Regions from separate parts of the Homo sapiens genome. Here region 2 is linked to region 1. The links are contacts of gene promoters, found by promoter capture Hi-C in human tissues and cell types (Jung and others, 2019). All regions are on one chromosome and are shown on one strand. The core of a region is centred on a gene start or on the middle of the fragment in contact, and the rest is flanking DNA. Distances in the headings are between cores, read along the strand shown. Region 1 holds the start of PTPRR (protein tyrosine phosphatase receptor type R). Region 2 has its middle 110 kb from the start of TRHDE.

Region 1 (5,636 bases), core at 1,796-4,295:
ATGAATAATTTTCATCCATTTATAGAGAAGTAAATATGGATGCTCATAATGATTAAATCTGTTTTGAAGGCAGGCTCTGAAAAGCTTCTTTCTTGCATAAATTTTCTCTAAGACTCACCTCATAAGAAAAAGAAATTATGCATCTTATGTGGAGGAAAATTCCATATGATATTTTTTATTTATCTTGTAAAATGTAAATGATTCTTTTATGACATAGCTCTGTAGGCCACTACTAATTTGTATAGTTCTCTCATAGTAATTTCCATGCTTCTTTGAATTACAGCTAACTTTTTAAAACCCTGATGCAGTGTTTTAACCAAGCTTTTTTTCCAAAACACCAAGTCACCTTCACTAGCATTAGATCACAGTTAAGGAAAAACAGCACCTATCGACTCAGAATATTTCTGTATGAGTTAAGTGGTTGACTTTTTCACTAATTGGCTAATTCATTCATTGCTGTTTGACTTCACGAACAGCAATGAGTGAATTAGCCAATTAGTGAAAAAGTGAATTGAAGCCGTTACAAGTATGATATTAGATTGACTCACATAGGAATATGACCTTTTTCGTTACTTTATCATTTCTAAGTAAATTAATAATGAATGTCTAGTCACCAAAATTACAGCCCACTCAGGGTTATTTTTACCATGCTGAACTAACTATTCTAATGATATATCCAGCCAAATTGGAAATTGGAAATTTTTGCTGCTAACGGAATTTTCATGCATAGTTTAACAATTCAGCTACCTGCAGCCCTGAACAAAATACATTGCCAGCAGGATGCTTTTTGGCAAAGTCATAGTCAATTATAATAATGGGAATTTTAAATGCCCCACCAATAAATGTTGGAATTATCTGTGGAAAAGGAAGGGGTTCAGAACATTACTGCAGCATTGTTTCATTACCATAAGTAAGTATATTTTATTCTTGGAGATCTATGTAAGTTTGATAATTAGTTATTTTAGGAAACAAGAAAATAAGAAAAATAGACCTATTGTAAGTGGGATACAATTATTTTTCCCTAACCTCCAGCCCTGCAGCATTTCTAGTAACAGATGTTAGATGAGAAGAGTTATTCTTCTAAGCTTTACAGAATGCTAAATAAATTATCTCAAAGGTTGACTCAGTAAGAATTTCAAAGAGTTAATTGTCAGTATTGAACTTTGTCAACTATCATTTTCATTTATTCATTTTTGAGTATCTATTTTGCATGAGGCATTGCTCTAGGGAGTTGGGACATATCAATAAAGTCATCAAAGTTCTTCAACATTGGAGCTCAAATTCTGTTTTGCGGGGGGGAGTAGGGAAATAGATACTAAACAATAGATTTTATAAGTAATTATTTTGGTTTGTTAGAAAGTGATACGGGAAAAGCAAACTGGAGGACAGTGAATCAGGAATAGGAGAAGAGGTTGCAGCTTAGAGTGGTTTGGGATGAAATGATAGTGCCACAGAAATGGAGTGTGCCACACGCATGGGGGAGTAGGGGGTGGAGCACGTTGCTAGAGAGGGGCTAGACATGGAGATATGTCTCTATTTTCAGCAGAGAAGGCCTGTCAAGATATTAAAAGTACATCTCATTGTCCCCTTCTCCCACTTGTTGGAGTGCTTCCTGGCCTTGTCTCTCAGAGCTGAAGATGACATAAATCATAAAAGAAATAAATGGTACCGCCTGGGCTCTCTGATCTTATAAGGTCCCACCTAATTTAAGCTCTGGTGGATAGCCTATTTCCCATTAGTTGTCTCAATTCACAGAGGATGGAGAAAGAAAGCACTGAATGAGATGTGCAGCTCAACTCAATGGGCACTTGTTAGCCCCAATTATTTGGCTAGGACAACTTTATTCAAGTTAATGGAATACAAAACTCAGCAGTTCTTATGGAGACTTCAATGTGCTGTAGAACAAACCACAGATAAATGAACTGTCTGAAAGAATAATATGAGGCACGGCTAAACAAGTGTTGTGGAAGAGAAAGATCACTGTAATCTAGAGTTAGTTAGAGTTAGGGCTTTCTGGAAAAGTGAGACCAACATTACACCTTCGAAAACTAGTGTGGTGGTGGTGCAAGTGGAGGAAAATGGGAAAGAGGCAACAGTGTCCATAAAGACACAGAGGCAGAAAGGGCAGAGGCCCTGGGATAGTTAAAAGAGAAGTCTAGCTGAGGGACTTCTTGACTTGACTAGCAGCAATTAGCCATGACTAATAAGGCTTTCCACACTCCAAAGACTTAGATGGAGGGATAAAAAACCATCTAATGGCAGACTGTGGTAGCCTCCCTAGAGACACAGAGCTGGGCCGGATGAGTCCAGGCACTGACGTGATCCATTATCTTTCACCTTAAAGAGTAAAAGGGAAACTAAAGTTAATTACCTCCACGAAACAAAAAGGTGCCTTCTTGTGCTTCAATTACATGGATATATTCTACTAGTCTAAAAGTATCTTCTCACTTCTTTCTGTCACTGTGAGGACTTGAGTCAGAAGAAAGTTTAAATACAGTCATTGAGCTGGAAAGAGTGGAAAGAGAAGCAAAGAGGGGGAAGCTGTAGGAAGGACGAAGTCACCCCCAAGATACATGGTTACTGCTTACACCAAGCAAGCTGCCTTGGGAACGCTTCCCCCGAGCAGCCAGAATGCTCAGCAGTGGAAGACACCTCTATTCCTGTAGGCGAGTCCTGGGAAGCTGGTCAATCTGCAAATGCCAATTCCCAGCAGTGAGCTCGGTCCACGTGTAAATCAAGATTTGGGGAAAGAGTAGGGTGGGTGGCATGGTTGACAATGTCATCAGCTCCCTCCTCTGACTCCTGTGGTCGTGCCCCCATCTACTCTCACTCAGCTACACCCCACCTTCGGATTTGTGATGGACGCTGGGTCCCTAGTAACCACAGCAAGTGTCTCCCCCGCACTTCCCCCTTCCCCACCCCCACCCCCACCCCCAACCACCACCCCAGCGATGGAGCCTACTCTGCTCCAAGCCGCCGCTAAGACCCGGAGAAGCGGAATTTCACTTTGAAATTCCCTTGCCTCGTGAGGGCCGGCGCTGGGCATGCTCAGTAGCCGCGGCGCTGCTGCTGGGCTGCTGGGCTGGCGCGGAGTCCACCCTGCCGTCTCCGCCTTGGCTTCTGGGCGTCCAGAAGGCCAGGCATTTGCCGCCTCTGAGCGCTTCTGTTCCCCTTACCCGCAACCTCCTACTGCTCTTCCTCTCTCCCTCTCTTAGGGAGGTTGAAGCTGGTGCTGGTTTCTGTCGGCGCCACAGACTGACTGCTCTGCAAACCCCAGCCGAGGACCTGAATCCCGGAGACTAGAAGACCCTTGGCGGTGGCTCTTTCTAATAGCACTTTACCTGAAGTGGGGTCGTGGTGGAGTTTCTCCTCCACCTCTCAATGCAAACACTATGCGGAGAGCAGTCTGCTTCCCTGCGCTGTGCCTGCTCCTTAATCTTCACGCTGCAGGTAAGGGGTTGCCAGGCTTAGAGCCGGAGCTGTGCATGAGATGGGAAACTGCACATGCTTAAGGACTCTAGGAAAAGCTTGCCTTGCGAAGAAAGCCTTTCTAAAAAGGTAAAACAGGACAGTACCTGACAGGGAAGGGGTGAGGGAGTCGTGCACCTGTTGGAAAACTGAGGCCGAAAACTTAACCTAAAATTAGCTCTTGATTTTTCTTTACTTTATACGAAAATAGTGAACATTTTCAATATGAATACAGGTTTGCTCCCCCCTTCGCCTCCCCTCCGTCTAGATTCCCTGCTCTTGTTTCTAGGCTATGCACTTAACTGTCAATTTTTCAGGAGAGGGATAAGACATCCTGCTAGATGTAACCTTTTCTACTGCAGCGGCTACTACATTCATAAGGTCTCTTGGTCTAGCGAGCGCTCATAGGAAGGCATTGGCTGTAACCTGATGGACCACATCTCCGCCCAAAAGATCGAAATACATGGTTCACATTAGTGATGCTGCACCAGGCTCCTTTGGCCCCTGCTCTTGTCACTCGAATTTTCTAAGCCAATAAGAGGAAGAAAAGGTTTCAAATAGAATCCTCTTGTCTCTTTCAGCACCGTGGCTAGCGTCCGCTGGCATATTAAAAAAAAAAAAAAAAAAAAAAAAAAAAAAAACAATTACAGTTCCAAAGCTGACAACCCTGGGTTAGGCACTGTCCCTCGGACAGATTTGATAAGGTGTAACCAAGAGTAACAGTGAGACTGCTCCCAAATATAAATAGATTTGAGGCACCAGAATCAATATCAAGTCTCGTGAGGAAGCAAACCTTGGGAAGTACCTGAGAGATATTATATGTGGTGTCCCTGCTTTTTGCATACATAGCACCTCTATTTAATGCAGACAGACTTGCTAGGCTGAATTCCTTATCATTGTCACACACACATGAACCAAAATAAAATATGGCAGGGAGATTTTAGAAACCCTACTGTGACAGCAGTTGTCCATGCAGTAGTCCTGTAACAACCAGAGACGAGGCATTTTCCCTGAGTGTGCTTCTCATCCAATCACACATATCCATTCATTCCTTCAAGCAACATTTGCTGAGTGTATACTATGTTCTAGGGGTAATGAGTAAAAATAATTGTTCTGAAATTACAATCCTTGCAGTATCTTTTTTAAAAGAGTGGGTGAATTTTATTCTCTGTGTACAATAGTAGGAGTGAAATATGGTACTTTCTTATTCCAGCTAACGCTATTATTTAAATGTATCATGAATCTTTTGAGCAAATAATGCATAGGATTATTAAAGCTATTATTAAATACACATGTTAATTGTTATAATTATGATGTTATATTGTGGAGTTTTCAATAGTTCTTTGGCACATTTTGAGAAGTAGAAAATAGCTATGACTTGATTATTAAATTATTTGCAAACAGCTGTAGTGAATTATTTCGTTACCACATACAATTCTTCAATGCTGAAATGTGGGATGAAAACATACACATTGGGTTGAGTTTTATTTATAGTATTGCTTAATAATAGACTGACACAAACATTCATTACAGAAAAATCTCAATTCTTACTAAGGTAGCAATGATTTAGCTGGTCTGCCAACAATATCAGTGTAGTCATTTTTTCAAAACTAACATATAAAAAAGTTTAAAGATCACATTTGATACATCTTGAGTAATTATATCTTAAAAGTTATAAATAAACTGAAGCATGTGAAAAACATGTCTTGATTTACTGTAGATGAATATTCGGGATGAGAAAAATGAGGACTTTTGCTCATCAGATGAGAAACCTAGAAGCCTGTAGCCCTAGATTTTACCTGGAGTTCTGCCAAAGGGTATATTACCAAAGCCAATCCAATCCATCTCTACTTCAACTTTTTAATTTGCAAAACAAAGATAAAAAGTAAGATTAATCAACCAATTTTAATTTAATAAGAAAATGCATTTAAGGACATTTTTATATTTCAATTGCAAGATACTATTCATTGTATTCATATTTAATATAGTAAAATACATTGGTGTTTTATCACAGCAGATTGTAAGTTTAATATTATAGTTCTCTTGCCAATTTCATTTTAAATGCATTTTAATTTTAAACAGCAATTTGTGGGTCACAAGCTGTCATCAGATTAAAATTTATCACAGTTATCTAATAACATTGTTAGGGCTTTTCATCAGAACTAAAA
Region 2 (5,229 bases), core at 228-2,727, 1.2 Mb before region 1:
CTCAGCATACAAGAAGAGAGCTAGGATGAATGTTAGCCAAAATATCTTGTAGTACGTTTTTCACTGAGTATCAGAAACACTTCAAAAATCACAGTGATAGGCCTAACAAAGCCAGTATGTCTTGCCATACTTTCTCTCTGTCCTATGGATGATGGGAAGACAGGAAAATTTACTAAGTGCCATAGTAAATGATCCACATCCACAAACCATACTATTGGGCAAACTGTATAGACATGCCTACAAAACCCATGGAGCTTTTAAAACAGATTTATTAAGGCATAATATGCAATATACTATCTATATTTAAAGTGTACAATGGGATGAGTGTTCATACCCATGAAAACACATATCAAGATCAAATAAACATATCTGTTAGCCTTAAAAGTTTTCCTGGATTCCTTTGTAATCTGCCATATGGAAGTTCTTTTTCATTTGACATCACACCAAATTAGCCAACTCATTCTTAAATATGAAAATAAACCAATCCTCTCCCTATACTTCTGCCAACAAAGCAGGATATGTTCTCAAATCTAAAAAGCTTATCTTCCAGTACAAAAGTTCCAGTTCACCCACAGATAACCCAGAAAAAAAAGCTCTTATGTTGGAGCATGGCTCTAGTTCTCATCTTACCTACCACAAAAATCAATATGACCAGACACATAATATAAACCACTGGCTCTTAAATGTATATAGCAGCATACTGATGTATAGCTAACATCACAGATATTCTTCCAAATTTGGATCAATGCAGCAATTTTTTTTTTTTTTTTTTTGAGACGGAGTCTCGCTCTGTCGCCAGGCTGGAGTGCAGTGGCGAGATCTCAGTTCACTGCAACTTCCACCTCCCGAGTTCAAGCGATTCTCCTGCCTCAGCCTCCGAAGTAGCTGGGACTACAGGCGAGTGCCACCACGCCCAGCTAACTTTTATATTTTTAGTAGAGACAGGGTTTCACCATGTTGGCCAGGATCGTCTCTATCGCTTGACCTCGTGATCTGCCAGCCTTGGCCTCCCAAAGTGCTGGGATTACAGGTATGAGCCACTGCAGCTGGCTGGCAAAATTTTTTATTTGCTACAACTAATAACACATACTATTAGTGGCAAAGTCTATCAGCAACTAAGAGGAGCAGGTCATACAATACAGGTACAATTTGCAGCCAGTGAGAAAGGAGATAGAGGTGAGAGGAACCAAAAATAATTTTGTATTTACTAAAACAAACCAAAAAATCTCTGGTATTGAATATATGAAAAGGAATTCCAGGACAGTGAAGAGTTCTACTCAAACACCCATATAACACTAAATACTGCCAACAAAACAGTAATAAATTTGAAGTACATTGCCCCAGAATTCTAGTATTTAGAACTGTGGCATGAACATAAATAAAATGGGAACTACGTGGGGTAGAGGGAGCAGGGAAACATATCTAAACCATTGGTTCTCAGACTTCATACTCCTAAGAATCATGAGGAAGTTTTTTCTTTTGTTTTGTTTTGTTTCATTTTGTTTTGTTTGTTTGTTTAGATGGAGTTTCGCTCTGTCACCAGGCTGGAGTGCAGTGGCGCAGTCTCGGCTCACTGTAACCTCCGCCTCCCAGGTTCAAGCGATTTTCCTGCCTCAGCCTCCCAAGTAGCTGGGATTACAGGTGCCCTCCACCAAGCCCAGCTAATTTTTTTGTATTTTTAGTAGAGATGTTGTTTTGCTATGTTTGGCAGGCTAGTGTTGAAAACTGCTGACCTCAGGTGATCCACGCGCCTTGGCCTCCCGAAGTGTTGGGATTTCAGATATGAGCCACCATGCCCGCGAGGAGGTCCTTTTAAAATATAGATTGATGGGTTTTATCCCAGAGATTCTGATTCAAGATACCTGGGATGGGGGCTTAAGAATTTGCACTTCTAGTAAGTGCCAGAAGATGCTTATGCTGCTGTTTTGTGGACCACACTTTGAGAGCCACTGACTGACTGTGAGTTCCAACTTAGTTCCTAGCAGTATTCAAATGGAAATCAGAGAGGCAGGGAGGGCAGCCAAGAAACCTTGGCCAACAATGTGGGTATGTAACATAACCAGAGAGAATTTTTTTGAAATAAATAGCAGAGGAAAAAGAAGAAAGGAACATCAAACCTATGCAAAAATTCTGTCCCCTTAAAGAAGAAAAAATAAAAGCATGGCATGAATGGTAGAAGAAGAGCACAATTAGGAGGAGATAATTTCACAATTAGATTTAGAAAATAACTAACCTCTAAAGCACTTAGAAAGATCAAGAATGCTATAAAATGAGAGATGTAAGATGAGACAATATGACAACAAAATGAGATGAAAAGAGAACTGGGAAAGGAAAGGAAAGAAATTAGAAAAAAGAAACACCATGGGAGAACTTAACATAGTATTTGCAGCAGTGAAAAGCAGAGAAAAGACAGAGAAAACAAAATCCATAATGTAGAGGACAGACTTGAGTAAATCATACAGAAATAAAGACAGGATGAGAAAAAAATTAAATTGAAAAAGATGGATATGAAGTGAAAGCAAGAGAGGTCCAATGTATAGCTAGTTGGCATGCCTGAAGAAAACAAAATAATTGGAAGATATAACATTTTCAAACGTATTTTGCCAAAGTTAGATATCTGATTTGAAAATCCCTACATATAGTCAAAAATAATTATATATCATCTTGAAGAAATGGCAGTTCAAGGTTAACAAATACAAAACTGCTAAGAAGAAGAATCATGTCATCTACATACATATTAGTGAAGTTCTGCCATTGCCTTAGCTTCATCGCTGCCTAGTTGAAAGAATTCATGTGGCTGGGTCATTCCCATCCTTCTGTTGTGAGGTCTAATGTTAAATAAAGTATCAGAAGTCTTTCCTGATCTTCCTCTACAAAGTAGATCATTGAATTACTATTACTGTACTCTAAGTATGTGTTTCTTGACAATTATTGTTGTTTTTGTTTTTATTCAACATATTCTGTGGTTAATTATCAGTAACTTTCTACTACTAAAATTTAAGCTTCACAAAAAGAGAAACCCATATTTGCCTGGTTGACCACTGTGTTCTTAGCATTTGCTAGTGATTGGTACATGTTACATAGTCAATAAATATATTAAATAAATGAATAAATAAAGTTACTGTAATTAAAATCATATTGTAGACTGACAGATCAAACAGAATTAACTAAAGAATCTAGAATCAGACCCAAGCTTATGTAGAAGTTCTGAATATATTAAAATGGCATTTAAGGCAGAAGAGGGGTATTCAGCACTTGGCACATTGATTGGCCATTTGTAAGAATAAATAAATCTCAATCTCTTGTGTGAATGGGTTTTGAGAAATTCAAGGAATGGTGAATAAGTTAGCATGGAATCAAAAAGAAGTAAATAGACTCAGAAAATCAGATGTTCATGAAGTCAGAAAATGCTATAAGATATAAGCCATCAGGAATTTGCAGATATCTTAGGAAAGGCTTCCAACAAAACAGAACAGAGGATTATGCAAATCTTATTTAATTCTGAAAGAAAACCTGACATCTGGGTTACATAAACACCAAAGCAAGAATTGAAACAGAAAAAGATGAATAGTCTTTACTGTATACAAATTTATGACTGTATTTAAAAAGTAATACCAGAAATAAGACTGAATAATAAATGGCAACCCAAATGAAAAGTTACAACATATTTGATAAACAATTATTGTTTCTAATATAAAAATAATACTAATAAATCAATAAAAAGGTGAGAATTACTGAAAGACACAAAGAGGCAATTACACACACATCATAACAAATGAGCCTGCTCTTCTACATATATAAGTATGTATGAAAGATATATATAATATATACACATATGAATGTATGAAACATATATATTATATATATACATATAATTTCACTTTTATTTTAGATTCACGGGGTACAAGTGCTGGTTTAAGAACAAACTTTTCTTGATTCTGTATTCCATTGTATTCCATTCTAGCTTTCATCCCATTCCTCTCATCCCTTTTACAGAAAAAATAAAAAAATTCATTGCCTATATCCTCTTGCAATTTTCTCACTTTTCTTTCCCAAACCCTCTCCGTCAGACTTTCATTGACATCTCCTACCAAAACATTTTTGCATGAACATTGTGAACTTTACATATGAAATCCAGCAGTCAATTCTCAGTCCTCTTCCTATATGACTCCCCAGCACTATTTGACACACTGATCGTGCCCTTTTCCCTCAAATACTCAGTTTAGTTTTTGAGATGCCACACCTTTCTCACCTTTCTCCTACCTCTTGCCTTTTCCCATCTGATCTCCAAATCACAGGCTCCTTTCTCAATGTTCTTCTCTTTTCCCTGCTAAACTAACTCCCTATCTGGTTCATCTATTTCTACAGCTTTTATTACTATCCAAATGTCAGTATCTCCAAATTTCCATCTCCAGACCTGACCCTGAGTTCCAGGCTTGTATATTCAACAGTCAATTCAACATCTTCACAGAAAAATCTAATAGGCATCTGCTGCTTAATACTCAAACGAACTTCTTATTTTCCCCTTCCCATTTTCTTCCATGGTCTTCCCCAACTCTAAAACTAGCACCACCATTCACCAGGTATATAAGGTCAAACTATTGGAATCTTACTTGATTCCTTTCTTTCTAAGACTCCATATCCAATCCATCAGCAAATCCTATTAGCTCTTCCTTTTAAGTATACTTGGAACCTGACAGTGTTTCACCACTTCTGCTACTATCACCAGATCAAAGCCACCATCATCTCTTGCTTGAACTATTATAATGGCCTCCTAAATATCCTTGTACTTCGAACATTTGCTCCTTCACACAGCAGCTAAGATGATCTTCCTAAAACACATGAGATAATGTCACTCTTCTGCTCAAAAGCTTCTAATCTCTTCCCATTATATTTAGAAGCAAAACTAAAACCCTCACCATGCCCTTCAAGGATCCTAGCTACCTCTCTGTCTTCATCTTCTATCACTGTCTTCACATTCTATACTGCTGGATTTTTTAGAACCATCATTTAAGGTTGCAGTGAGCTGAGATCACGCCACTGCACTCCAGCCTGGGCGACAGAGCTCAAAAAAAAAAAAAGAAAAAGAAAAAATCAGTGTAGTTGCTGATCCTGCCATTTCCTCTGCCCAGAACAATCATCCCCCAGATATTGGCTTGGCTCACTTGTTCACTGCTTGGAAATATCAGTTACGTGTCATCTCTTAACAGGCCTTCCATCACCCTAGCA

The links. Contacts are between HindIII fragments. The study calls those that stand out against the background at their distance.
Region 2: a fragment that was not itself captured here is called in contact with the fragment with the promoter of PTPRR in region 1 in 1 of the 25 tissues and cell types used here (spleen).

The regions. Positions count from the first base shown.
Region 1 is chr12:70,918,147-70,923,782 of GRCh38, reverse strand. PTPRR (protein tyrosine phosphatase receptor type R) reads left to right here and starts at 3,045. Exons shown (of 14, transcript NM_002849.4): 1 at 3,045-3,450. The coding sequence starts at 3,393. The HindIII fragment of the contact is 3,890 bases long and covers 704-4,593 here.
Region 2 is chr12:72,156,976-72,162,204 of GRCh38, reverse strand. It overlaps a transcript of TRHDE not described here. Among named protein-coding and RNA genes, the nearest start is that of TRHDE, 110 kb to the left of the region's middle. The HindIII fragment of the contact is 5,110 bases long and covers 1-4,032 here.